Linked DNA regions of Homo sapiens: regions 2, 3, 4, 5 and 6 are each linked to region 1. Evidence: promoter capture Hi-C in 16 types of primary human blood cells and fetal thymus (Javierre and others, 2016). All regions are on one chromosome and are shown on one strand. Each heading gives the region's core, a stretch centred on a gene start or on the middle of the fragment in contact. The rest is flanking DNA. Distances are from core to core; before and after follow the strand shown.

Region 1 (4,673 bases), core at 861-3,360:
GAAGCAGCTGTTGAGGAGGAATGCTAACTGATGGCTGGTAGGCATAAGGCTAAGCAGAGCGAAGGGTGTGTGGTGGAGAACCCACCCTCCTGTGCTGCCTCTTCTCCCTCTCTCTACACTAGTAGGCTCATCTGTCCCTCACAGACAGAGATTTTGGCTGCTGCACACACAGATGTTTATTGTTTTCCAAGCTCCCTGGTGTTAAACATGCAGGGTCAGGGGGCTAGCAGGCTGAGATGAAGCTCCTCTCTACTTGGTCTTCTTATCGTAGGTGCCAGAACCCTTGTAACCACTCACATAGCCTGTGTTGTCAGTCATCTCTTCCCGTCCCGCAATGCCCTTGCCCTTGCCACTCTCATCAAAGCGCTCCTTGTGGGTGCCGGTGTACTTGCTGGTGTCTGTCAAACGGTCCACTGCACCCACTGTTGTTGCTTTCTGCAAGCCAGGGATGGATTTGAGCTCTCTTCCTTTCCTTACGCTGTCATATCCCTTCCCCAAAGATGGCCCGAGATACTTAGAACAAGTGCTTGGAGCTCTTGCTCTGCCACTGGCATGGGGTGCTGCTTTCTTAGGGCCCAGATACAGCTGTGGGCAGGTACTCTGGTAAGAGCCGTTCACTCATGGGGGAGGAGGAGTGTGGTGTGGGAATGAGTGTGGCGTGTGCAGAGGGAGGGTAGGTTTTTTGTTTCCAGAGGAGTTATTCTGACTAGGCTGCTGCCTGAGGACTTCACTCCCACTCCCCGACTCAATATCCACTGTAGAAAGAGCTTTTAGTTCAGACAGGACAATTAAAAAAGGGAGTAGGTGAGAGGCAGGAGGCCTGAGATTAAACCCTAAATAAGAATTGGAAGAGGAGTGGGCATCAGGTACCAAATTCTCTACACTAATGTCCTCCAAAAGCTACCAAGCCCTAATTGCCTGGCTCAGATACTAGACACTTGGAAATTAGTCTAAATCTACTATTAAAATAGCCATGGACCTTGGGCAAGTCACTTCCCTTCTCTGGGCCACATTTTCCTGACTTCTGGAATGTCTAGATGATCTCTAAAGTCTGTTTCGGCCCTGTCTCTACAGTCACACAGTTGGCAGGGTTAGGGAGGGTAGACTGGAACAATGGGGATTTAGGGAAGTAGGGTCAAGGGGATGAAGGCTGTCACTCACAGTAGCGCCAGTGGTGGCTGGGTCTTTGCCCTCCATGAGTCCATAAATGTTCTCCAGGACTTCATCTGGACTCTTCCCTTTGAAGCGCTTCTGGCCCAGTTCCTTCACTGCCTCTTTGAACTGTTGAAACGTGATGGTTCGGGCGTTCTTGGCCCTGGTCAGTTAGACAGAAATCCAGAAACTTTGGAGCATGAATGCATTACCTTCCAAGGTCCAACTCTTGCCTCACTCAGATTTGGCCTCTTTTGTCCTATCAATCAGTGAGTGTCTCGAAGACAAAGGATAGCACAGCGCCAGGTACCCTGTGGTGCTTGGTAGGCCCACTGCAAATGTTCCACCACGTGAACCCTTCCGTGGCCAACTACCTCGCAGGTTCTTCTCACCCCCACCTCCATATTTTTGGCTCCTCACTTGACTTTGCTGAACACGATGTCCACGTCCGTGGAGGTGACTGTCTTGCCATCCATGATGCCACAGTCTTTGCACAGCTTGGAGAAGTTCTTGTTGTTCATTTCAGTGCCACTGCTTGATGATTCTCCAAACGCAGCAAACCGATGGAATGTTTTTTCTGCCTCTGATGCCATGGTCAGCTAGAGGTCGGGGAGGGCAGTCGTGGGAGACACTTGGGGGTGAAGGAGAAGGGGGAGGGAGGACTGTGGAGTAATGAGGATGAGTGTTATGGTAAAATCAGTCAGCAACAGGAACAGCTCCCCTCTTCCCTGTTGCTCTCTCCTTTCTCCCTCCCAGCTCCCATTGCACCTACGCAACTACAGCATGAGTCTCCCATTCCCAGCATTGGAGATACCAGTGTGGATCCTACCTACTGAATGATCCTCTCTTTCCCCTACCTCTTTTATGTACCTTAGAGTACCCGGATGGTGGTCTGACCCTTCCCGGCCTTTGTATTTAAGTGTGTGCAGATATGTGGGAGCCGGTTGGCTGTGGCAATGAGGAGACAGAGGGAGGAGAGGGAAGATTCTATGACCTCAGCAGTGGTTATGTGACATCACTTCTGGCCCCAGCTACAGCCATTGCCTTCAAAGGAGGGGGCTTTTGGTCTCCCTACCTTGCATGCCGAATTGAGCAAACTGCCAACTTTCTGACCTTTTCAGATGATCACATTTCCATCATTTCAGCCAAGCTTACCCATCCTCTGGGTCCTAGTCAAATTGCCTTATGCTCTGCCCCACAACAGAAGCTGAGGCGAGCCCAGGGAAGGTGTTGTAGTCTGTTTGGGCTGCTAGAACAAAATATCAAACTGGGTGGCTTATAAACAACAGACATTTATTTCTCAGAGCTCTGAAGGCTGAGAAGTCTAAGATCAAGGTGCTGGCAGATTCAGTGTTTGGTGAGGGCTGCTTTCCGGTCCATAGATGGCACCTTCTTGCTGTGTCCTCACATGGTAGAAGGGGTGAATGAGTTCCCTTGGGCCTATTTATAAGGGTATGAATCCCATTCAGAAAGGCTCTGCCCTCATAAAACTTAATCACCCCCCAAAATGCCCCATCTCCTAATACCATGACTTTGGGAGTTAGGATTTTATTTTATTTATTTGCGTATTTATTTTGAGATGGAGTCTCGCTGTCTGTTGCCCAGGCTGAAATGCAGTGGCATGATCCTGGGGCACTGCAACCTCCAGTCCCAGGATTCAAGCGACTCTCATGCCTCAGCCTCCCCAGTAGCTGGGATTAGCCCAGCCACTATGCCTGGCTAATTTTTGCATTTTTAGTAGAGACGGGGTTTTGCCATGTTGGCCAGGCTGGTTTCGAACTCCTGACCTCAAGTGATCCACCTGCCTCAGCCTCCCAAAGTGCTGGGATTACAGGTGTGACCCACTGCGTCCAGCCGGGAGTTAGGATTTTAATATATGAATCTGTGGACAACATAAACATTCAGACCACAGCAGTTAATGAAAACGGATTAATGAAAACAGGCTGTCATGTTTTCTAGTCTCCAGGCTCAAGTGTAGCATGGAGAATCCCACTGGCTTTAAAAGGCCAGTCGCAATAGAAACATTAAATAGCTTCCAGTGTTGGGCCCAGCAAGCCTTGGAGTATAACAGATGTGGACAGGTCAGGATAAAACTGGGATAGACTGAGGGTGAGGCTCAGATTCTGAAAATCTTCAGATAAGTTTCTATGCAGGTCAAAGATGTTCCTCAGGGTTTTCTCTCTTCGGCCTTTTCTCTGGCCAGAAGCACTACAGATAGATGAACCTCACGGATCCTAAAACAGAGCAACGAGACTGGTGACTTTCCTCCTTTTCCCATCTAATAATGCCACCACTTTCTATTTTTTTTCTTTGTCTTACAAATCTATGCCTTTCTTTCCATTCCTATTGCTTCCACCCTTATTCAAGTTCTTATCATCTCATAGTTGGATGACTACTCTGGTTTCTAAATGATCTCTTTTCTAAATCTAATTCTTCACTCCCACCCACCCATAATCCATCTCTATTACCTCCTCCCCATCAGATTAATTTTCACAAAACAGTATTTTTTATTACTCCTGCTCAAGAATATTCTGTGGCTCAAGATATACTATAGCTTCTCATTGCTAAATCTTTTTGCTTAGCATTCAAGGACCTATACAACTAACTAGGCCCCAATCTACCCTACCAAACATCACCCACCTCTCATCAACATTATTCTTGGGCAGGGCACAGTGGCTCATGCCTATAATTCCAGCACTTTGGGAGGCCAACAAAGTGAGACCTTGTCTCTAGATAAATAAATAATAATAAAAAAATTAGTTGGGAGTGGTGGCATGCACCTGTAGTCCCAGCTACTGAGGAGGCTGAAGTGGGAGGATTGCTTGAGCCCGGGAGTTTGGGGCTGCAGTGAACTAGGATTGTGTCAGCGCACTCCCACCTGGCTGACAGAGAGACCCCATCTCAAAAACAAAACAAAACAAAACAAAACAAAAAGAACCCCAAGAAACAAAAAACCTAAGAACCAGATTATTCTGCAGCTGGGGTCATATGGCCTAATTGCTATACACTTGACAGGCTACTTGGGAGTGGAAGGAGCATAGTCCCTGGAGTGGAATGGACCGGGGTGGGGAAATGAATCCTAGATATGTCATTTACTAGCTGAGTGGACTTGGGCAACTCACTAAACATTTCTGAGTTTCAATTTTCTCATCTGTACAGTGAGGACGATAACACTAACCTTACGGTATTAGGGGATAATACATGGGAAGCTACTATTCAGTTCTCCAAAGTAACCTGAATGTTTCTGCCTCCAAACTGTCCTTCATGCTCTCTCTGTGCCTGGATAGAATGCCCCTCACTCCCACTCAAGTATTCCATGGTTGCACTTCTCATTTGGTGGTTCATCCTAGGAACAAAGCCCTTTTCCTTCTCTGAATTATAGTAAGATAATGATTTCTAGACTGTGGGCCACAGCCTCCTGGCGTGAGGATTTCTGAAATCTTGCAAAGGGCCCTAGAATCTGTATGTATAAAGAGTGAGTGTGAACTGAGTAAATAATATGCCTTGCATGTGTAGGTATT
Region 2 (4,673 bases), core at 1,548-4,047, 500 kb after region 1:
AAAGAAATTTTCTCCAGTTCCTGGGAGCAAGTTGCAGTCTTTCCCCCGCCCCACCCCGCTTCTTGTGCTCAGTAACCCTGTTCTCGTGGTCCCTTTTCTCTACACCATGGTTTTCAACTTATTTGGGAGGGAAATACCTTGAGCAGAATACAATGGGAAAAGAGCCTCTATCCTCTTTCTATTCTTAATTCATTTTTATCCCTTCCTGTCTGAGCAAAAACTGTATGGAATCAACACCACTGAGCTCTGTGGGGAAAAAAAAAAACCTGCTCCCTTTGCTCTGCTGGAAGCTGGAGGGTGTGAGGGCCCTGTGTGGCAGTGCGGAGAATTCTAGCTTCTTTCCTACTTTCTCTATATATTGAGCTCAGAGAGTACACTGTGCCTGTATGTGAATAAAGACAGTTAGCATTTACCAACATGTATCTGTCTACTGTCTTTTGTTTAAAAAAAGGAAAAAAACAGTTCTAAAAAATGGGGTTTTAGAAGGTCAGCAAAGGGTGGCTTTGACATGTTTGGCCGGGTTAAGTGGGCATTTTGACAACATGGCTTCTCCTTGGGATGTTTGTGATGTTTGACAGATATCCTTGCAGTTTAAGATGACACTTTAAAAATAAATTCTCTCCTAATGATGACCTGAGCCCTGCCACTCAATGGGAGAATCAGCAGAACCTGTAGGATCTTATTTGGAATTGACATTCTCGATTGTAATTTTGTTCCTGTTTATTTTTAAATTTTGTTTTCGTTTCACTGGAAAGAAAAGATGATGCTCAGTTTTAAACGTTAAAAGTGCACAAGTTGCTTTGTTACAATAAGACTAAATATGTACACAAAAAAATTAAAAACTAAAAATAAAATAATATAGGTTGGGCACAGTGGCTCACATCTGTAATCCCAGCACTTTGAGAGGCTGAGCGGGGAGGATCGCTTGAGCGCAGGAGTTTGACCAGTGTGGGCAACATGGCGAAACCATGTCTCCACAGAAAAATACAAAAAATAGCCTGGAGTGGTGGCACATGACTATAGTCCCAGCTACTTGGGAGGATGAGGTGAGAGGATCACTTGAGCTGGGGAAGTAGAGGTTGCAGTGAGCTGAGATCTCACTACTGTACTCCAGCCTGGATGACAGAGTGAAACCCTGTCTCAAAAATAAATAAAGAAAGAAAGAATATAAATATTTTGTATCAATTTTCAGCTTTTACAGTCAATGAACTTAAGTCTTAATTTTGGTTACAGAATTAAATATTAATATTAACAATCAAGGCAATGTAAAAGTAAAGTACAGTTGACTGAAGCTGGGACACAGACGAAAAGAGAGTGAATGAAAAGAAGGATACTAATATTCTTATTTTACAAAATAGGAACTCAGAATACCCAGTGCCTATCTGAAAAAGATACTAAAATGATTAGCATAGTATTAAGTTAGAAAGGTAAACAAGAGAACTGAAATATAGCTATATTAGGAAGAGGGGAGGGAGGTGGAGTTGAGCTAAACCTTAATATGTTGTAAAGTCAATAGACCTTTGATGGATTAGTGAGTACAGGACACCTTTCCTAGTAGAGGACACCATTAGAGGGAATTCGTTTGAGGGAAAACAGCCTGCAAATTATTTATTTATTTATTTGAGATGGAGTCTTCCTCTGTCACCCAAGCTGGAGTGCAGTGGCACGATCTCAGCTCACTGCAACCTCTGCCTCCCAGGTTCAAGGAATTCTCCTGCCTCAGCTCCCAAGTAGCTGGGATTACAGGCGCCCACCACCATGCCCAGGTAATTTTTGTATTTTTAGTAGAGACAGGGTGTCACCATGTTGGCCAGGCTGGTCTTGAACTCCTGACCTCATGATACACCTGCCTCAGCCTCCCAAAGTGCTGGATTATAGGCATGAGCTACCATGCCCAGCCCAAATTACTTACGATTGGAAATCACCTTAATGTGACAAAAGAGGGAATACTTAAATAAATCACATTACATTAATAGAATAAAATATATCGAGTAAAACTTTTTAATGACTACTCAACAATATGGAAAATTCTATTATATAATAGAATTTTCAAAAGATATAAGTCCTCTTTCCCTAACCTTCCCTTTCTAAACCATTTAGTCCTAAAGCCACCAGGTGGGGCAGAACAAGGTCATAGACATTGATGAGGAGGGGCCATCTGGCACAGGAATAAGAACTCAGAACCCAAGAGAGATGAAAAGGTGTCCCTGGTGAGGGATGTCTGAGGGGGCTGAGAGGGGAACACAGCCTGCAGAATCACAGCCTGAGCAAGTGGAGGAGATGTCCACTCAGAGGGGTTGCCTAGTGTGAGATATCCAGGCCCAAATGGTGGACACCCATGTAGAGGGGCAGCCCTGGCACAGAGTGTCAGAGCCAGAGTGGGCAAAGGGCATCCATATGGGAGGGGGAATGGCGGCAGCAAGGTGAGATTGGTTACATACATGAAGATGCATGCAATAAGCAACTATATTAAAGAATATGGGAGAAGAAATTTATAAGTCAAAAAGTTATAAATAAGAAAATTAAGATATAAATATGGGAAGAGAAAACCTAATATGAGCTTGTGGGGTTGGATTTGAATTGAGGTATTGGTATAAACGTATGGTTTTCAATATAGTTACATAAAGAAAATACATGTGAGAACTTACATGTTACATAAAGAAAATACATGTGCTGCACTTAGGCCCTCGAATCGAGTTCTCCTGCAGGTTGCTGCAGATTTCGGTGTATCCTGGGGTGGGAGCCTCCAGCTTTGCCTGTGGCTGCTGTCCTTTCAGAGCTAACAGATACCTACTTACAGATAGTATTGTGAAATTAAAAGAATTTCAGCACAAGAAGGTGGCTGTTGCATGTAATCTTTCCTAAAGAAACCTATTTTAGGAATTTGGAAGAGAAACTGACAAGCTCATCTTGAAGGGGGAGTTGATAACCTTACTTTATTTTTGTGGGTCCCAGGACCATGTGGAGCTGGCTACAAATGTCATTTACAGGTACCATGCAGGGAACAGAAATATCACTTTGGGGGAGTATAGGTTTGGACCACTTTTCATGAGTCTGTTATGGGTTGGATCTTGAGGGGCTCATGAAAGACCAGCATTTATGAGATTCCTTCTCAGATTCCACATCATTCAATATTTTGATGGATATGTTATTTATCAAAGGCAAATATAAAAGTGCTTTGGAAGTATTGATAGAGATGAAAAATCAAGCTGTGAAATTCACCAAATATCCTATGTTCTTAGTTTTGCAGTTTGCAACAAACTGAAGAGCGCTGAGTCTTTCAAAATCTGTTCTGCATTAACAGAAGAAGCCCCACTCAAAGGAGAGGTTCCCTCCAGGAGAGCATCCCGTTTCTTTGTGGCGTTAGCTCTGAATCAGAACCAAGTGGCAAAAGCTATGTCCATTTTTTTCTCAAACCATGAATCCAGAAAGCATAGCCTGCACTAACTTAACTATTATAATCCATATCCAGTCAAATATGTTGGAAACCCTGATAGAGACACTAAAAAAATGCTGCAGAAGGAAATTTATTAAAATTTGTGAAAAGACATGCATTCTCAGAGGAAGTGCTGGCAAAAGTGAAGGAAAAGTGAAGGATATGCCTGCCCTTGTGGCCAGATTTAATGAGATCTATGGAAAACTGCACATCAGTGGCCAGGTCACCACTTGTACTTTGGGTACTCTGCTCTGCCACACCCCCAGGGACAGGAAATCCCATATGTTGCTATTAAACAAGAGGATGATGAGCCATTGGACCTTCCAGCCACTCAACCGGTCCTTTTTGGCTGAGTAATAATCCTCATTTCATCCACCTGTGGATCTGAAGGGCCTGCTTCTAGTGAGTTGTTGCCTTCCCTAAGAAGCAGGCATTGCACTTCAGTAGACGCTGTGCTGACACTTAGCCTCCTCTTGAAATTCCCAAGTTCACTGAATGGTGGCATGTTGATCTCTGAGAAGTTATGTTGCACTACTGTGAAGGTCTACATGCAAGCATGGTTCCCTCAGAAAGGAGCTTCCCTTGTACACTGCTGAGGATACCTGAAGGAACATGGTCAGTCTCCAGTCCAGCTTCCAGCACCAGAATGGAATCCAGCAAGCACCACAGGAATGAATTTCACTACAAGTGTGGTCACTCTGATTTTCAAGGGAGTAGTTACTTGTAAATTACATCCTTGCTGAATTCAAGAGGTCTGAAACCCTATTCTATCATGTTAGAAAATAGCCCAGGATTTCCTCACTGATCTGCCATCATATATTTCTATGACTTGAGCCCTCATTTTTCCATATGCAAAACAATAATGCCTATGCGTATTTGCATATAGATTTGAAATCTTCATGCAAAGTTCAGTAGGATCAGATTTTCTCAAAAATAAGAGAAATAAAAAAGGTTTGTAAGCAAAAATTAAAAAAACGAAAGAAAGAAAAAAGAGAAAATACATGCAAATACATGTGAGTGTGAGTGTGATTGGCTATTTGCCATATTCCCACCTATGTCCACTGAGACAGCCTTAGAGCTCTCTCACCCCAACAGCAATGAGCACCTACCTAGCACCCAGATCCAGGTTTCAAAATACTGTTCGTCACTAAACACAACCAGGTCATCTTAGAAAAATGACTGGTTCCAGGGGAAGGAAAATATAAAATGAGCTTGGACCATCTTGTAGTTTCTAAAA
Region 3 (4,673 bases), core at 906-3,405, 410 kb after region 1:
TTGGGAGGCTGAGGAGGGCGAATCATGAGGTCAGGAGTTCGAGACCAGCCTGACCAACATGGTGAAACCTGTCTCTACTAAAAATACAAAAAAATTTAGCCAGGCGTGGTGGCACACACCTGTAATCCCAGCTACTTGGGAGGCTGAGGCAGGAGAATCGCTTGAACCCGCGAGGCAGAGGTTGCAGTGAGCTGAGATCACACCACCGCACTCCAGCCTGGGCGACAGAGCAAGACTGTCTCAAAAAAAAAAAAAAGTTTTCAAAAGTAAATGCTCAAAGTAAAAAGAGGGAAGGGAAATTTCCTTATACTCAGCAGGGAGATTTAAGCCCCTTATTTCTAGTTTGTATTTGTCTTTACACTTTTCACTGAACTTCATTGGAGAGATGGGACCAGAGGGATTTCATGGAGTAATCCAGTGAAATCAATCACCTCTGCAAGCTTCAGGTGAAAAGAAATGCAATCTTTGAACTATGGTATGATCAACAGGAATGGAAAGGGGAAGGATATGAGGCATTTTTTATTCTTTGTTTCTGTCCATCCTTCTGGTATCATTGTCCTCCTTCACCTACTCAGTCCCCATAAATATTGTAATAGTCTTGGTGCTTTGGGTTTAAAAAGATCGTGTCTGATGTACAATTTAATTTCTTCTTTGATTTCCCTCTACTGCTTTTCCTAGTCCCTGACTTTAATTCCATAGTGTACCAAGTGCTCAAAACACAGTCAGCTTCTCAGTGAACACACAGGAGTGTTTATAATGGGTTTAAACATTTGAGGCAAGCCAGTGGGGTGCATGTGCCAGGAAGCCTTTTGGGTCTCGGAAATAGAATCTTGCCCACTTCACATCCACCAAATAAATCTGTGCTTATCATTTGATCAGGTTTGGGGAGGAGCAGAAGACAAACAAGAATATTATCCTTGCTCATTGGGAACTTGAATTTGAATAAAAGAAAATATCTTCTCCACCTTTTACAATATATACAATACAAACCTAGAAGAATGAACAAACACACAGAGACACACACTACAGTTAGATGGCAATACAAGTGGTAACTGATAATCACCAGAGTGAGTGTAGCCTCAGTTTCCAGAAGGTAAGATGTCTGTGGAAATCTGAAGAAAACTTTGAGAAAGTACAAATCGAGGCAAGTACGTGTGTGTGTGTGTGTGTGTGTGTGTGTGTGGCTAAAGCTTTGCAAACTCACGTTCCTTGATGTCTGAGATAAACAGTCTATGTATCTTGGAAACCAGTATGCCTGTCATAGGTGTTCGTGGATGTTGTTACAGTGAATAATTGGTTGAGTCCTGGTAATTGTGCCTACTTTTCTGGGATATAAATTCCTGACCTTTAAAAATATTCTATAGCCAATGAAGCTGAAAATTACAAAGTCTTCCCCAAAGGATGACATAATAGTTTCCTTTTCTGAACAGAAGCTCCTTGAAATAGTGCACTGTCATGTAAATAAGTATCAGTCATTAGACTTCATTCTTCCTGCTTGGTTTACTAGAAATTCAGTCCTACCTAGACCCTAGACAATCTATCCTGGAAAATTAGTAGTAGGGTCCTTGACAAAAATATTTAAGCTGAATCTAATCATGAGGAAATAAGTAAATATTGAACTGAATCTTATATGAGGAAATAATCACATTCAGAATGTGAGACTTCCTGTAAGACAACTGCCATGAGAAAAGAAAGTCTAAGAGGAGGGGAATTTTCTAGATTAAAAGAGACCAAAGAGATGTTACAACTAAATGCAGTGAGATATATTGTTAGAATTTACATTATTTTAATAGGGAGTGGGTAAGTGGGGAAATCTGAATATGGACTGTATGTCTACTAGCATATAAGGAATTATAAATTTTCTTGGGTGTGTTATGGTACTAATATTCTGCTCTTGGATAGTACATGTAAACAGGGGGAAGGGTAGGTAAGAAGGATGCAAATGTTCCTAATAATGGGTGTTCTAGTTAAAGGGTATACAGGTTTTACCGTACCGTTTTTTTAACTTTTCCCTAGGGTATTACTATACAAACAGACAGTGGCCAGAACATATATAAAAATAGACCTCTGACCAGCACTAACCTACAACAGCCAGTGCAGGAAGTCAACCCACAGTGACCAGCACAGGAAGCCAGCCCATTATCTCTCTCTCTCTTTTATTTATTTATTTTTTTGAGACGGATTTTCACTCTTGTTGCCCAGGCTGGAGTGCAATGGCACTATCTTGGCTCACCGCCTATCACTGGCTATCTCTGCCTCCTGGGTTCAAGCAATCCTCTTGCCTCAGCCTCCTGAGTAGCTGGGATTACAGGTATGCACCACCACGCCAGGCTAATTTTGTATTTTTAGTAGAGACAGGGTTTCACCATTTTGGTCACGCTGGTCTCGAACTCCTGACCCTCAGGTGATCCGCCTGCCTCAGCCTCCCAGAGTGCTGGGATTACAGGCGTGAACCACAGCGCCCGGCCAGTCCATTGCCTTTAAGCCAGACTTTTAGGAAGTCAGACCACTATCTCTAAGCAACCAGCCCAGGAAGCCAAACAATAACCTCTGTAAAAACCAGACCCAGTGGCTAGGAATTTATGAATAATTAACACCTTTCCTATTATTTGTTTCTGTTTCCAAGTTAGCATCAACCAGAGAAAGCCAAATATGCATCCCTAACCAATCACATAGGATGCCCCGCTTCTAGTTAGCCTGCCCACCGTGTCCCCATGCCACAGTCTCCAGTCAGGGCACACTTGAAGGCTTCCCTTTGTCCACTATAAAGTTTTCCCACTCCTCTGCTTGCCTTTGAGTCTCTGCCAAATCACAAGTGACGTTCTTTTGGGTCCCCACTTCCAAGATGGCAAAGAAAAGAAATAACAATGGTCATGCCAAAAAGGGCCACAGCCACGTGCAGCCTATTTGCTACATGAATTATGCCCTATGCCTACCCAAAGGCAAGACTATTAAGAAGTTCATCATTCAAAACGTAGTAGAGACTGCACCTGTCAGGGACATTTCTGAAGCTAGTATCTTTGACGCCTATGGGCTTCCCAAGTTGTTCGTGAAATTCTGTTACGGTGGGAGTTGTGTCATTCACAGCAAGGTAGACAGGAATTAATCTTGTGAAGCTTGCAAGGACCGAACACCGCCACCCTGATTCAGACCTATGGGTGCTGCCACATGACCCCTACCAAAGCCCATATAAGAAGGTGAGTCCTTAAGGATTGAAGAAAAACTCTCTCTAGAGAAAAATAATATGGAAATTATATTTTTAAAAAATCACAAGTGAAGGCTGCTAACTCCTTTGCTATAGAAAGCTCTGAATAGCTTTTGCTGGTTCTCATTAACTGGTGTTCATTTATTTCCACATTAGGATTAAAGTTTTTCCAAATGAAAAGTTGAGGGGAAATGGAAGAAATACAGACAAACAACAAAAAAAGCAATTAAAAATATTGCTAAGATTACAACTAGGGGTCAAGTTGCTCAGCAGAGGAAGTGCTCAGGATGGGCCAGAACACACTGGAGCACAACCAGGTTTGCTGATGCTAAGTCTAATAAACTAGTAGAAGGGGCTTTTGGAGTTTCGTAGCGTCAGACACGCCAACTCGAGTGAATTGTGGAGTAAGGGCCTGGAAGAATGAGAATGTAACATAAGGTCCTGGGACAACCTTTGATGGTAGGAAGTGGGCTGAATGTGGATAGGGTCAATTGGTCAAAGGTTTATTTGTACTGATAGAGGAGTGAGAACCCTCTCCGCAAAGCCAGCCTCTGTCTAGCAGAAACCAGAAACATCAGATCCATGGTTGTTGCCCTGGCTTCTCTCCTTGGAATACTTCTTTGAATATTTTAAATTATTATTATTATTATTATTTTTAGACTGAGTCTGGCTCTGTCGCCCAGGCTGGAGTGCAGTGGCGCCATCTCGGCTCACTGCAACCTCCGCCTCCCGGGTTCAAGCAATTCTCCCGCCCCAACCTCCCGAGTAGCTGGGACTACAGACCCGTGCCACCATGCGCTAATTTTTTGTATTTTTAGTACAGATGGGTTTTCACCGTGTTAGCCAGGATGGTCTCAATCTCCTGACCTCGTGATCCGCCCGCCTCAGCCTCCCAAATTTAAATTATTCTTAAATGAATAACAGTCTGTGGTTAGAAGAGAAGAAATCAATTCATGTAGGGAATAGAAGTGAGCTTGCCAAATTGTGACAGGGTGAGAATGAGGGGACAGGTTCTAAGAGAAGGTGAGGGGCCATCATGAATACCATCAGAGAAAGACAAGCAAAGAGAGGAGGAGAAACAGCAAAGAGGAAGAAGGCCGTTTGAGAGACAGTTTCCACTGCTTAGTAATTTTGCCTATGGCCAGTCTCTCTGAAAATAATAATAATGAAGATAATACTAACAATGATGATAATAATAAACACCTATTTTGAAAACAGGGACGTTGAGACCTGGCAAAGTTAAATAACCGATTTAGGTTTTTTCTAACCACTGCACTACATACTCTATGTCTATACATGCCAACAGTCACACATCAACTATGACCAAAAGTTTATTTTAATTTGACTTTTCTGCTCTAGAAAAAAGGTAGGCGTACTTGTGTTCCCCTGACGTAAAAAAAAAAAAAAGGTAGGCAACCTGCCATTTCCTTAAGCTATGAGGTGTGTCTTTAGGCCCAAAGAGAGCATG
Region 4 (4,673 bases), core at 1,338-3,837, 390 kb after region 1:
TCACTCTGTCGCCCAGGCTGGAGTGCAGTGGCGCGATCTCAGCTCACTGCAACCTCCACCTCCTGGGTTTAAGCAATTCTCCTGCCTCAGCCTCCTGAGTAGCTGGGATTACATGTGCCCACCACCACACCTGGCTAATTTTTGTATTTTTAGTAGAGATGGGGTTTCACTCGATGACCAGGCTAGTCTCAAACTCCTGGCATCAAGTGATCCACCCACCTCAGCCTCCCGAAGTGCTGGGATTACAGGTGTGAGCCACCACACCTGGTCTTGTTGTCATTTTTAAAAATCATATTTTAAAATCCAAATATTCTCATTATCATGCTCCTTTCCGTCTTCATTATGGATATCACCAAAAGACTGAATTCTGGAACTACTAATGAATTCTCAGGTCATCAATCCACCTTCTTCTCTTTCAGGCAAAATTTCTTGATCCTAGATCATACCTAATAATAATAATACTTATTATTATTATTGATATATCGTGATCAATATCATCGCCACTTCCTAAGACCTTCCAACCTGTGAGTCTTAACCTATGGGTCCATGGTCATGTAGGGAATCTAAGGATGGGTTTCAGAAAATTTATATGCCCAATAGGTATCTAAATTTTATGTGCTTGAATATATATGCATTTGTCTGAGAAGAGGGACTGTAGCTTTAATTCAACATTTGAATCCATTCGTGCACTCTCCTCAAAAGCTAAAAACTGATTGCAAGTCTAAGTAGAGCCTTCCAACTGTTTATGCAAGTCAAGAATTTTAAGAAAAAATTCCTTATAGATATAAAATGAAATAAAAATAGATTATCTGTATATTTTTGTACATGCTTGTTAGAAAAATTTACATTTAATGCTAGAGGAAAAAGAGGTGAAGCAAATTTAATAAAGGGACTTAATTACTTCTCTGTGGTAATTCCAGGTGCTGTTGGGAAAGCAGATCAGTGAGGGATTTCATGAGTAATAGCATTTACTGTATTCTTCTAGTGTGCACTTTAGTACATTGATAAAGACATCTCCACTCGTTTTGTCATTGGATTATGTTTCATTCATTTGTTCATCTTTTTACATTCTTGTATCTGTTGTGTGAAATCTTCTTTTGTTTTTAGTAAAATAAGGAGCTTTAATATTAAAGAGTTAAGAATGCCACATAGGCTGGACACGGTGGCTCACGCCTGTAATCCTAGCCCTTTGGAAGGCCGAGACAGGCTGATCACCTGAGGTCAGGAGTTCCTAGACCAGTCTGGCCAACATGGCGAAACCCCGCCTCTACAAAAACACAAAAATTAGCCGGGCGTGGTGGCGGGCGCCTTTAATCCCAGCTACCAAAAAGGGTAATTTCATATAATTTCATTATATAAGGAGGCATTATATAAGGAGGCAGGAGAATCACTGAACCCAGGGGGCGGAGGTTTGCAGCGAGCCAAGATCGTGCCACTTCACTCCAGCCTGGGCGAAAGAGCAAAACTCCATCTAAAAAAAAAAAAAAAAAGAATGCCAAATGCCAAATATTGTTGTATCTACCAAGAACCAAACTTTGTAGTAAATTTTGTCTAGTTTATTGGACATTTGAAAAGGGATTCCTATTCATGGAAATCCCTTTGGAAATCTTGGAAACAAATATTTATTTATTTATTTATTTATTTATTTATTTATTTATTCATTCATTCATTCAGCAAAGGTCTGTGAAGAATCTTTGTTGAACACTGTGATATATGAATATATACAAAGATGAACAAGAATAAATTGTTTCTAACCTCAAGCAGCTTGAACTTTAGAGTTTAGAACTAAGGGACGGATAATAATTTAAGGAAATGTGGATGAGAAGGAGATTTACAAAAGGACATTGGAGATCTTATAAAAATTGGTTTACTCTTCCCAGTGCATTTTCTTGTTAGAGAAATTTTCACAGAGGTCATCATTCATTAAACAGGATTTGTCACGTTAGAGTGTGTGTACATAGGAACGATGTACAAAACATGTAAATATCAAGGTATCGACAGCATACTAAACTCAAAATAGTGCTGCAAAACTGGCAAAGTGCGTATTAGCGTCAAAAGAGTTAGCCATAAGCTTCAGTGGGCATGGAAAATAGAAATGTTTTTATCTAGTTCTATTCATAATGCATGCAAACACACTAGATAATTTTATTCCAAAATATTTCTGAGTACTAAAGGAATGGAAAGAATGATTCGAAGGTAAAAATAACTCTTCTGGAGTGATCTAGAAGTGTTGCCCAGAGAGGAGATGAAATATCGCCTTAAAAATTACCTAGTTTCATGAAACATAAAAATCTGAAGTCTATTCCAGCCACTGGCCAAGGAAAGGAATTCATGCAACAATTTACAGCATTTCTTGAAGTAATTGCCACATATTATGGCAATAAAGCATGTTAAACCATCCATTTTCAACATGTGTTTCATTGTGAAAAATAACTTTGGGCTCAATTTAATTCAATAAAATTTGTTGAATACTGTGTTCTAGGAAGTAAGTTGGTATGTTAGAGGTACAAATATTGGCCCCTGCCATCAAGGAATTCATAGACTTTTGGGGTAGACATAATACATATGAATATATAAATATATAATTTTTTTTCTGTTTTTGAGATGGAGTCTTACTCTGTTGTCCGGGCTGGAAACCAATGGCGTGATCTCAGCTCACTGCAACCTCTGCCTCCCGGGTTCAAGCGATTCTCCTGCCTCAGCCTCCCGAGTAGCTGGGATTATAGGCACGTGCCACCACACCCAGCTAATTTTGTATTTTTAGCAGAGACGGGGTTTATCCTTGTTGGTCAGGCTGGTCTGGAACTCCCGACCTCAGGTGATCTGCTAGCCTCACCCTCCCCAAAGTGCTGGGATTACAAGCGTGAGCCACCGCGCCTGGCTTCGAATTTCTATAAAGGTACCATGACAAGCGTCTTTATTCATACTATTATATGAAATAAATTTGCCTGAAATTTTGGTATGATGGTATGTGTAGATTGAGTGCGCATGTGAATGTGTGCATGCATATAACAGTGATACAAACTTGTGTGTCCATGAAAGTTTGTGATTAAATAAAAGAATAAATAAAAATCTGTTTATTGATATTTATTTCTAAGCTTTCCTTTCAAAGATCTTACCTTCATTGACATGAAATTTGTATTTTGTTTTTAAACATACAGTTAAGACAGAATATACTTAATTTAGAAGAAGTAGAAAATGCTTCTGTTTGCATCATTTTACATATAAAACTCTGAATAAGGCCAGGTGCAGTGGCTCACGCCTACAATCCCAGCATGCTGGGAAGCCAACAAGGGGGATTGTTTGAGCCTGGGATTTCGAGGCTACAGTCAGCCAAGATCGCATCACTGCACTCCAGCCTGGGCCAAAGGGTGAGACCTGGTCTCAAAAATTAAATAAATAAATGAAGCTCTTAATGACATCATTGATAATGACAATGATGCTAAACTCAGCAAGCATATGTTACTCTTTATACTTACCTCAGCAGAGTTTGGCACAACTGATCTTGTCCTCTTATTTGAAATAGTCAATGTGTTCTTTGTTATTTATTTATTTTATTTCAATTGTTTTGGGGGAACAGGTAGTTTTTGGTTACATGAAGTTCTTTAGCGGTGATTTCTGAGATTTTGGTGCACCCATCACCCGAGCAGTGTATACTGTAGGCAATATGGAGTCTTTTATCTTTTAGTGCCCTCCCACCATTTCCCCAAGTTCCCAAAGTCCATTATTTCCTCCTTATGCCTTTGCATCCTCATAGCTTAGCTCTCACTTGTAAGTGAGAACATACAATATTTGGTTTTCCATTCCTGAGTTATTTCACTTACAATAATGGTCTCCAACTCCATCCAATGCCATTATTTTGTTTCTTTTTATGGCTGAGTAGTATTCCATGGTGTATATGTACCACTTTATTTTTGTTTTTTTGAGCCGGAGTCTCACTCTGACACCCAGGCAGGAGTGCAGTGGCACGTTCTTGGCTCACTGTAACCTCTGCCTCCTGGATTCAAATGATTCTCCTGCCTCAGCCTCGCGAGTAGCTGGGATTACAGGCATGCACCACCATAGCTGGTTAGTAGAGACAGGGTTTCACCATGTTGGCCAGGCTGGTCTCTAACTCCTGGCCTCAAGTGATCCACCCACCTCCATCTCCCAAAGTGCTGGAATTACAGGCGTGAGTCACCATGCCCGGCCAATATAGCACATTTTCTTTATCCACTCATTTGTTGATGGACATTTATGTTGCTTCCATATTTTTGCACTTGCAAATTGTGCTGCTGTAAATAAACATGTGTATGCAAGTGTCTTTTTCATATAATGCCTTCTATTCCTTTGGGTAGATACTCAGTCGTGGGATTGGTGGATTGAATGGTAGTTCTACTTTCAGTTCTTTAAGGAATCTCCATATTGTTTTCCATAGTGGTTGTACTAGTTTACATTCCCACCAGCAGTGTACAAAATGTTCCTTTTTTTACCACATCCACCCCAACATCTATTATTTTTTGATTTTTAAATTATGGCCATTCTTGCAGGAGCAAGGTGGTATCTCACTGTGGTTTTAATTTGCATTTCCCTGATAATTAGTGATGTTGAGTATTTTTTCATGTTTATTGGCCACTTGTATATCTCCTTTTGAGAAATGTCTATTCATGTCCTTTGCCCACTTTTTCATGGGA
Region 5 (4,673 bases), core at 1,614-4,113, 320 kb after region 1:
CAGTATCAGTTAGCCTAAGATTTATTAACTTCCCAGTCTCCTTCTACAGGAATTGGTTCAGGAGTACTCTGTGTTGATCTGTGTGTTTGTGTTCTTTTGATCTCTCCCCTGAGAATGGGCAACTTGACTTCCATTCCATCTAAGTGGCCATTGGGCTGTATATTGGCTTATTGGAAAGCTTATAGCTATGAACTCATAACAAAAAAGATAATGATTTTTTTTCATTGTAACACTGTTTGGCCTATGTATGTGTTGGAATCTGAAAAATGGTGGCTACTGAACAGTGATTTACATTAGTACACCTTATTACAGTTGGCGTTATTTTGCCTAAGATCTGGGAAATGAAATGAGATTCCATGTGTTTAAGCATTTATTACATAACAAAGACTCAGCACATGAGGGGTCTATGTGAATGACGTAGAGAAAAGGGAAAAAGAGATTTCTCTTTCCAGATAGTAAGACCCAAAAGGAAGAGGATATTGATGATATGGGCCTCATAAATATCTTAAATTTCCCCTCCCATGTGGTACTGGGGGCACCAGCCCTCCCAGGATTACCAAATGTAGCCCAGGACCCGGAGAGGCCAAGGTGTCAGCTCCTCTCCCCAGGATGGGGAAGGAATAGAAATGGCTGCTCCACTTGCAGATTTTACTTGGGACCCCAACAATGGAGGAATGGCCCTGTCCAGTCATTATAAAAAGCATGTGTTGGCAGGGTTAAAGAGAAGAATGTAAAAGAGCTTAAATAAAGCCAGGGCAGTTCTCCCAAAGGCAGATGAGAACCCCTGTGAATTTCTGGAGTGCATTTACCAGGTTTACCACAAGTGTATGGACTATGATCCAGAAGCTCCTGAGAATATGAGAATGGTAAACGTGACTTTCATCCAATATTAAACGAAAACTGCAGAAACTGGAGGGGGTATTTGGAATAAACCTTTCCCAACTGCTGGACATTGCCTTCAGAGTATATAATGCCAGGAAGGCCAAAAAGCTAAAGCAAGCCATGATATACTTGGAATTAGTGGAAAGAATGTATATCCGAAAAGGAAAAACCAGGCACAGGGAGGTGGCCAGAACAAAACTCTAGGTAATGATCAGTCTGCCCCCTGCAAGGAGGAAGGTCATTGGAAATCTGAGTGCCCCAAATTAAAGAAAAGACAGGGAAACCAGAAGAAGGGAGACACAGTGACAGAGAAGAAACATACTGGCTGATGGTAAAGCAGGACTGTAGCTCAGATAGTGAAGGAGGCCCAAATCTTTTGGAGCAGGTTGTAATTTCCCCACAGGAACCTCAGGTACGATTGACAATGGGGAACAAATTGATTGACTTTTTAATCAATACTGGTGTGACTTATTCAGGTAGAAACACTAAAGAAACTGAAAGTACTAGGAAAACAGTGCCTGTGATGGTTGTCGCTGGCAAGATGCAGCAAACAGCCTTTCTCCAGACCCTGGAGAGTCTGGAGACTGCCGGACACAGAGATCTGGAGCTGAGACACAGTTTCCTCTATATGCTGGAATACCAAATTCCTTTGCTGGAGTGAGATTTGCTTTGTAAACTAAATTGCCATGTGACGTTTTTCTCCAGAAAAACAACAACTTCATCTGCAGGTCCTGCCAGAGCAAGCTTTGCAGCTGCAGATGCTGCTCACACACCCCGAGGAAGAAAAAGAATGCCTCCTGCCAGCAATCTGTGAGCAAGTAAGTAGTCATGAGGGCAGATGGGACCACAGGTAGTGCTGAAAATACACAGCCTGTGTGCACAGAAATAAATGAAGGGGCTAAGGTATTCCCCAAACACAGTGCCCTCTAAAAAGAGAGGCTTTAGAGGGGATACAACCTATATTACAGAAGTTTCTAAAAAATGGACAAATATGTCCTTACAGATCTCCATACAATGCCCCTATCCTGACTGTTAAAAACCCACACTCAAATGAATATTGATTTGTACAAGATTTGGGAACCATTAATGACATTGTTCAAGACATTCACCCAACTATGCCCATCCTTTACACCTTACTAACTGATAAACCAGGGCAGTATGGGTAGTTTTCGGTATTAGACTTAAAAGATACTTTTTTTTTTTTTTTTTTTTTTGCATCCTGATTGAAGAGAGGGACCAGATGCTGTTCACCTTTGAGTGGCAAGACCTGGAAACAAAAAACACCTTCCAATATTGTTAGGCTGTATTTTCTTAAGGTTTTAAAAACTCACCCACCATCTTTGGCAAAATATTGGCAAAGGGCTTCAGAGATTTTCAACTAGATGATGGGGTTCTGCTAAAATACTTGGATGACTTGTTAATCGCAAGCCAAGACTATGAGAGGTGCCTATCTAACACTATCTTAATCTTAAATTATTTGATATAATACGGACGTAACATATCACCTCAGAAAACTCAGATTTGTAAACAAGAAGTGACCTATCTTGGCTTCTGACTAAAAACAAGGAAAGCAGAGCTTGATGTCCAACCAGAAACAGGTGATAGCAGCAATAAAGGCCCCTGGGAATGGAAGACACTGTGGGGGGTTTTAGGTGTGGCAGGTTTCTGCTGAATCTGAATCCCTAATTTTGGACTCATAGTCAAACCTCTCTACAAGGCTCTAAAGGGATTAGATTCAGGAGCCCTAAACTGGATGGCTGAATGCCTTCAGGCATTTGATACCATCAAAAAAAAAAAAAAAAATAGTGTCAGCTCCAGCATTAGGACTGCCCAATTCTTGAAAGCTATTTAGACTCTATATCCATGAAAACCAGGGCACAGGACAGGAAATACTAATTCAACTACGTGGGAATTCCCCACAACCCATAGCCTACTTTCCCAAACAACTGGAGCAGATTACCAGAGGATGGCCACCTTGTCTTCAGGCCGTGGCAGCTACGTGTGATATCTTACAGGAAGCAGAAAAATTCACCCTAGGACAGCCCATTACTGCATTTGTGCCTTATCAAGTGTTAACCTTATTGTAACAAAAGGGAGGTTACTGGATGATAGCGGGGCATATGGGCAAATACCAAGCCAGCCTATTAGATAACAGAAATGTTTTCTCCAAACCACCACAGTCTTGAATCCTGCCACCTTGCTCCCAGCCACTGAGTCCAACTATGAACTGGAGCATAATTGTTTAGAAATTCTTGATGCAGTCTATTCCAGCAGACCAGATCTGTCAGATCATCTGATGGCCACTCCGGACTGGGAGCTATACACTGACTGAAGCAGTTTCACAGAAGGAGGACAACGCCAGGCCAGGTATGCTCCAGTGACCCTAGACAAAGTAGTAGAAGCCTATGTCCCCGCTGCTGGTACTTCAGCACAAAAAGCTGAATGGATTGCTCTCATCAGGGCCTTAAAACAGTCTCAAGAGAAATGGGTAAACATTTACACCTACTCCAAGTATGCCTTCTTGGTAGTGTATGCCCGTGGGGTCATTCAGAAAGAAAGGGGATTCTTAACCTCAAGAAATAAAGACATTAAACACCTGCTGGAAATTTTAGCTTTGTCAGAGGCAGTTGTTCTGCCAACTCAAGTTGCTATTATGCACTGCCAAGGCCACCAAAAGGATGACTCCCCAATAACCAAAGGGAATCAAGTGGCTGATAAAGCTGCAAAGCAGGCCACTCAAGAAACATATTTACTTGGGACCTTAATACTCCATTTAAACTTGTCAGAATTTAAACTCCACTACACTGAATGAAATGAAGAATGCACACATGAGTGGACATTGACCAACACAGACCCTTGTTCCTCATGGAAAGCTAACACTCATGGGATATTACTCTCTGAGGCCCTGGTATACCCAGTCCTGAAAGACCTGCATGAGGGGACACACTATGGCAGAGATGGACTGGCTCACCTGGTGTAGCCATATCTCAAAGGGCCACACCTTCAAAAGATCATTCAAAAGATTATACAAGCATGTTATCTATATACCCCAAATGATTCAAGAACTGCATGCAACTCTTCCCAGAGGAGGATACAATACAAAGGAATATGACCATTCGAGGACTGGCAGGTTGATTTCACCCAGATGCCAAAAACACTGGGATTTATAAGTACCTACTAGTGTTTGTAGACACATTTTCTGGAAAGGTTGAAGCTTACCCGAGCAAGAGATTGAAGCCTATCCGAACAAGTCTGAGAAAGCTGCAGAAGTAGCTAAGGCTCTGCTAAAAGAAATCATTCCTCGATTTGGACTTCCTTACTCCATACCAAGCAACAATAATCCTTCTTTAATTTCTGAGATCACACAAAGGATAAGCCAAGCATTACAGATCAAATGGAAATGACACTCTTGTTGGAGGCCACAATCAACTGGAAAGACTGAAAAGATGATCCACATGCTAAAAAACAAAAACAAAAACAAAAACAAAACAAAACAAACAAACAAAAAAACCAAAAAAAACCCCTGGCAAAACTCTATCGGGAAACAGATTTAAAATGGTAAAGGGTTTTACCTATTGCCCTGCTATGGATTGGGGTAGCACCCTGAAGTGGGCTTAAATTAAGCCTTTTTGAAATTGTGTGTGGGAGACCCTTCTGAAGTTCTTGGCCAGGGACCCCACCCTTGGACTTAATAAATTAATCAAGAATTAAACAATATGTACAACAACTAAGACATAAATCACTAACCCTGCACAAGTTTGTTCTTTTTGTTCTTTCCAGTTTTATGTGTC
Region 6 (4,673 bases), core at 1,557-4,056, 270 kb after region 1:
TAGAAGTAATGCATTTGAAAGTAGTTTTAAAACAATAAAATGTAACCAAATGCAGGCTTGGCTGCTTGCAAAACCAATAACAAGGACAAGATGCAGTGAAAAGAAAGAAGCTTTATTCCAGAGCTAGCACTGGAGAAGTGGCCATGGCTTGTGCCTTAAAGGAACCATTTCAAACTTTAGCCTGGGGAGAGGGGCTTACAAAGGGAACTTGCAGTGGGTGGCATGCAAGGAGTGGTGCTGGGTACAGGTCCGTGCGTCTCGTTCTGGTGGCTATCTTGAGTCATGGTCCACCTGGAGCATGGGCTGGCATCATCCCCACAATGGCCGGGTTGTTGACTAACTGCTTTGAGGTAATCTCTGGAATTTTGCAGCTGGGTTTCCATGCCTGTAATCTGTCTCAAAATTAGTCCCTAGAACTTCTAAGTAAGCACATATTTAGATACAAGCCTACAGTCAGATAAATGTATGTGACGTAAGGGAGTGTACGGTGGGAAATGGCGGGGGAACAAAGACTCTTGGTATGTTTCAAAGCTATATATTAAGACTGAGGAGGGGAAAAAATTTCTGCAGTTTGCTTCAAGGTTATATCTTGAGACTAAAAAAAAGAGAGAAAAAAAGAAAAAAGTTTTAAAATGCATTTTCTTTCTTTCTTTTTTTTCTTTTTCTTTTTTTTTTTTTTGAGGCGAGTTTTTGCTCTGTTGCCCAGGTTAGAGTGCAGTGGCACGATCTTGGCTCACTACAACCTCCACCTCCTGGATTCAAGTGATTCTCCTGCCTCAGCCTCCCAAGTAGCTGGGATTACAGGTGCCCTGCCACCACGCCCGGCTAATTTTTGTATTTTTAGTAGAGATGAGGTTTCACATGTTGGTCAAGCGGGCCTTGAACTCTTGACCTCAGGTGATCCACCTGCGTAGGCCTCCCAGAGTGCAAGGATTACAGGCCTGAGCACCGTGCCTGGCCTGAAATGCATTTTTGAAGTTCAGTTACTTGGTTACAGCTCCCTACTGTCAAATCCCATCCATTTCTATGGGAAGTGGTCAATGCAGGCGATCTGGCTACTTCCTGCTGAAAAGAGGCATAATTAGGAGGTAATGGGATGGAATCTGCTTACCTGGAGTTGGAAATATTCTTGAATTCCCAGATTGACAGTGGGAACTTGCTGGAGCATTTTGGTGTGGGGAACTAAGAGCTGCTGAGAAGTCTGTCTTGCATCCCCATACAGACAGCACAATAGCAATAAAATCCATAGCAGCTGAAGAAGACACTGAGTAGAATGCCAATTAAGCGATGTATAAGTCTTCCATGCACTAGGGAGTTGACTAAAGCGTGCCATCACAAGGCCTTAGGATGAGGCATCTATGGTGGAAATATTTAAGGCCTTCATAGCTAGGGTTACACTGTGGGAATAATCTGATACACACACACACACACACACATACACGCAAGACTCAGTCTTAGTTAATGCACATGTGCCACCTTGGGCTGCAGGCAGGATATCTAAGGCCATACAGTTCTTTAAGGCTGTCTAATCTGTGAGGTTTCTTCAGGGAGAAAGGTGATGGCAGAGTGAGTGTTATTAAAGGCAGCAGCCATATGCTTAGCTACGGCCTCTACTTGTAATTTTACATCTATGGCCGCCTCCTGGGGGGTAAAACCACAAGGGTGTCCATTTCTGATGACAATATCTGGCTTTTATGCTTTCCCAATTGGCAGGGAGAGGATCCAGATGGGACAGGATATGTCCCGGTAAGGGTGCCCCCAGTTGCATCTCCTGGTTCCATTATAAGGTAAGTAATGCAACCATGAGTGCCGCAGGCCCATAGCCAACCCCACGTGGAGGGATGGGCCCCAGTATGAAGATGGGCATTATTCTGCTATCCTAGCCACATACCATCAGTTAGCTGGAGAGATTGGCTACATTGTTGAGGATGTAACCATCCCATATGGTGGGCTATGGTGTGCTTGACCCATTACTTGTATTTGTACTGCGGTCAGACATCCCATGCCATCACATACAGCATATCCCAAGGTGGGGGTACTGTTAATCTATTAATAGAATAGGCAAATAAGGTGTCTCTGAGTTTCCTGGTAGGAGGGGAACCCACTGTGGGAGGTGCTATGATCATAGAAGGGGAATGGGTATGAACTCCTATACCAGGTATATAAATGACTCCAATTGCTCAGGTTGGCGGCTTGTAAGCACCATGGCAAGCATGCAGTGCAGGAAAGGAGTAGTTCCCACAGACCCAGCAGTCTGTTTTATTTTGAAGAGAAGCCACCGTTTGTAATGCGCTAGGTCAGCGAGAGCCTCTCTCCCATAGCGTGTCCCTTCGTGCAGATGCTTAAAATTGGGTAAACTAAGGCCTCAGGGAGTAAGATCATCCTGTAACCATTCGTTTCCCAGAGAGAATTAGAATCTGTTTTATCAAACTCCAGGCCCTGGTGCATTTTTTATGTTGTTCAGTGTAATGAGGTTTGAAGTCTGATAAGTTCAAATGGGATATTAAGGCCTCCAGTGTTTTTGCTTCCCAAGCAGCCTGTTTTGCAGTCTTATTGGCTGCCTGATGGCCTTTGGTTGTTTGCAAATTTTTTTTTTAGACAGAGTTTTGCTCTTGTCGCCCAGGCTGGAGTTCAATGGTTCGATCTTGGCTCACTGCAACCTCTGCCTCCCAGGTTCAAGTGATTCTCCTGCCTCAGCCTCCTGAGTAGTTGGGATTACAGGCACCCGCCACCATGCCTGGATAATTTTTTTGGTATTTTTTAGTAGAGATGGGGTTTCACCATGTTAGCCAGGCTCATCTCGAATTCCTGACCTCAGGTGATCCACCCACCTCAGTCTTCCAAAATACTGGGATTACAGGCATGAGCCACCTGCGCCTGACCTGTTGTTTGCAAATTATCTTTCTTGTGTCCGGGGCAGTGCATAACGGAGGTGTGGGCAGGCAAGGCAACTGCTTCTAATAAGGCCAGAATTTCCACTGGGTGCTTAATGTCCTTGTCTCCTGATGTCAAGAGGCCTCTTTCTTCCCAGATGGCTCCATGAGCATGTCCTTTCATGAAAGCGTAGCTGGAATCAGTGTAAATGTTTTCTTGCTTCCCCTGGGACAGTTTAAAGCTCTGGTAAGAGCAATTAACTCAGCCCTTTGTGTGGAGATAAGGGCATGGGCTTGTATTACCCTGTTGGTGGTCACCATGACATACCCAGCTCTGTGTTGTCTATCTTCCATGAAACTGCTCCCCTAGGTTACAGTTCTCAATCTGGGGCATCCAATGGCTGGTCTGACAGGTCCTGCCTGCTGGAATAGACTGCATGAACAATTTCTAAAATGTAATACTCTAACCTGGAATCAGATTCAGTAGCTGGGAGCAGTGAGGAAGAGTTTAGAGCCTGGAGGTTTGCAAGGTGATATCTGAGTCATCCAAGAGGATGGCTTGGTATTTCCCCATTCACCCCACAGTGAGCCAGTAAACTCCCTTTTGTTCTAGCAAAGTCAACACCTGATGGGGCACAAAGAGAGTGACCTGCTGTCCCAGGGTAAACTTTTCTGCTTTCTGTAGGACTTCACAAGTGACTGCCAATGCTTGAAGGCAAGGGTCCACCCTTAGTCATTTGATTCAATTGTTTAGAAAAATAGTGTATTGGCTGTGGGGTGTCTTCAGCTTCTGGATTAGCACACCTAGACTGACCTATGCCTTGTTTCTTATAAATGTAGAGTTTGAATGGCCTTTGGGATTCTGGCAATCCCAACACTGGGGCTGATACTAGCTTTTCCTTGATGATATTAAATCTGTGTTGGCACTTGGCCGTCCAAGGCAGGGGCTCAGAGTCTAATCCCTTTAGGGTTTCATGAAGGGGCTTAGTCATCAGTCCAAAACTAGAACTCCAAATCCAACAGAAGCCAGCCATGCCTAAGAATACTTGAAGTTGTCTCCTATTTTCAGGAGCTTTGATGGCTCCTCTTGCCTTTCTTTAACCTGAATCTGAGATAAGTTTACTTTTTGTTTACAGATTTGTAAACAGACACTTTGTATCCACCCTGGGCCAGGTGGTTTAGAACTAGGATGGTGTTAGACAAACATTTTTCCTGCTTGAGGCTATCTATAAGTAAGTCATCTACATAGTATAGCAGGACTCCATCAAGTTTTGTTTTGAGATGGAGTCTCGCTCTTTCACCCATGCTGGAGTGCAGTGGCGCAATCTCAGCTCACTGCAACCTCCGCCTCCTGGGTTCAAGCGATTCTCCTGTCTCAGCCTCCCGAGTAGCTGGGATTACAGGCACACGTCACCACTCCCAGCTAATTTTTTGTATTTTTAGTAGAGACAGGTTTCACCATGTTGGCCAGGCTGGTCTTGAACTCCTGACCTTCAGTGATCTACCTGTCTTGGCCTCCCAAAGTGCTGGGATTACAGGTGTGAGGCACCGTGCCTGGTTGTTCTTGCTTTTTGAGACAAGGTGTTGCTCTGTCACCCAGGCTGGAGTACAGTGGTGTGATCATGGCTCACTGCAGCTTCAAACTCCTGGGCTCACATGACCCTCCCATCTCAACCTCCCAAGTAGTTGGGACTACAGGCATGTTCCACCATGCCAGGCAAATTTTTTGTTGTTGTTTTGAGAGAGTTTCACTCTTGTTGCCCAGGCTGGAGTGCAATGGCATGATCTCAGCTCACTGCA

The links. The method cuts DNA at HindIII sites, captures the fragments that hold promoters and counts their contacts. A CHiCAGO score of 5 or more calls a contact.
Region 2: a fragment that was not itself captured here is called in contact with the fragment with the promoter of TPPP2 in region 1 in 1 of 17 cell types (monocytes); the score reaches 5.7 in monocytes.
Region 3: a contact is called between a fragment that was not itself captured here and the fragment with the promoter of TPPP2 in region 1, in 2 of 17 cell types (M2 macrophages and monocytes). The highest score is 7.0, in M2 macrophages.
Region 4: a fragment that was not itself captured here is called in contact with the fragment with the promoter of TPPP2 in region 1 in 2 of 17 cell types (monocytes and M2 macrophages); the score reaches 6.1 in monocytes.
Region 5: a contact is called between a fragment that was not itself captured here and the fragment with the promoter of TPPP2 in region 1, in 2 of 17 cell types (M1 macrophages and M0 macrophages). The highest score is 7.0, in M1 macrophages.
Region 6: a fragment that was not itself captured here is called in contact with the fragment with the promoter of TPPP2 in region 1 in 2 of 17 cell types (M2 macrophages and M1 macrophages); the score reaches 7.3 in M2 macrophages.

The regions. Positions count from the first base shown.
Region 1 is chr14:21,027,654-21,032,326 of GRCh38, reverse strand. It overlaps TPPP2 (tubulin polymerization promoting protein family member 2), which reads right to left and starts at 2,110. Exons shown (of 4, transcript NM_173846.5): 1 at 2,023-2,110; 2 at 1,573-1,814; 3 at 1,162-1,315; 4 at 1-435. The coding sequence starts at 1,745. The coding sequence ends at 250. It also overlaps a transcript of NDRG2 not described here. The HindIII fragment of the contact is 5,962 bases long and covers 1-2,304 here.
Region 2 is chr14:20,523,406-20,528,078 of GRCh38, reverse strand. It overlaps the pseudogene PTCD2P1 and the pseudogene SETP1. Among named protein-coding and RNA genes, the nearest start is that of RNASE10, 20 kb to the right of the region's middle. RefSeq lists a silencer at 735-945. The HindIII fragment of the contact is 9,274 bases long and covers 1-4,673 here.
Region 3 is chr14:20,615,164-20,619,836 of GRCh38, reverse strand. It overlaps the pseudogene RPS26P9. Among named protein-coding and RNA genes, the nearest start is that of TRT-TGT3-1, 3.6 kb to the right of the region's middle. The HindIII fragment of the contact is 1,926 bases long and covers 1,193-3,118 here.
Region 4 is chr14:20,635,950-20,640,622 of GRCh38, reverse strand. No RefSeq gene overlaps it. Among named protein-coding and RNA genes, the nearest start is that of OR6S1, 3.4 kb to the left of the region's middle. The HindIII fragment of the contact is 1,027 bases long and covers 2,074-3,100 here.
Region 5 is chr14:20,710,108-20,714,780 of GRCh38, reverse strand. LOC124903282 (a long non-coding RNA gene) reads left to right here. Exons shown (of 2, transcript XR_007064061.1): 1 at 1-1,700; 2 at 3,063-4,673. Among named protein-coding and RNA genes, the nearest start is that of EGILA, 5.5 kb to the right of the region's middle. The HindIII fragment of the contact is 2,470 bases long and covers 1,629-4,098 here.
Region 6 is chr14:20,759,884-20,764,556 of GRCh38, reverse strand. It overlaps LOC107984671 (a long non-coding RNA gene), which reads left to right. Exons shown (of 3, transcript XR_001750624.2): 2 at 1,714-1,787. Among named protein-coding and RNA genes, the nearest start is that of EDDM3B, 6.2 kb to the left of the region's middle. The HindIII fragment of the contact is 5,387 bases long and covers 113-4,673 here.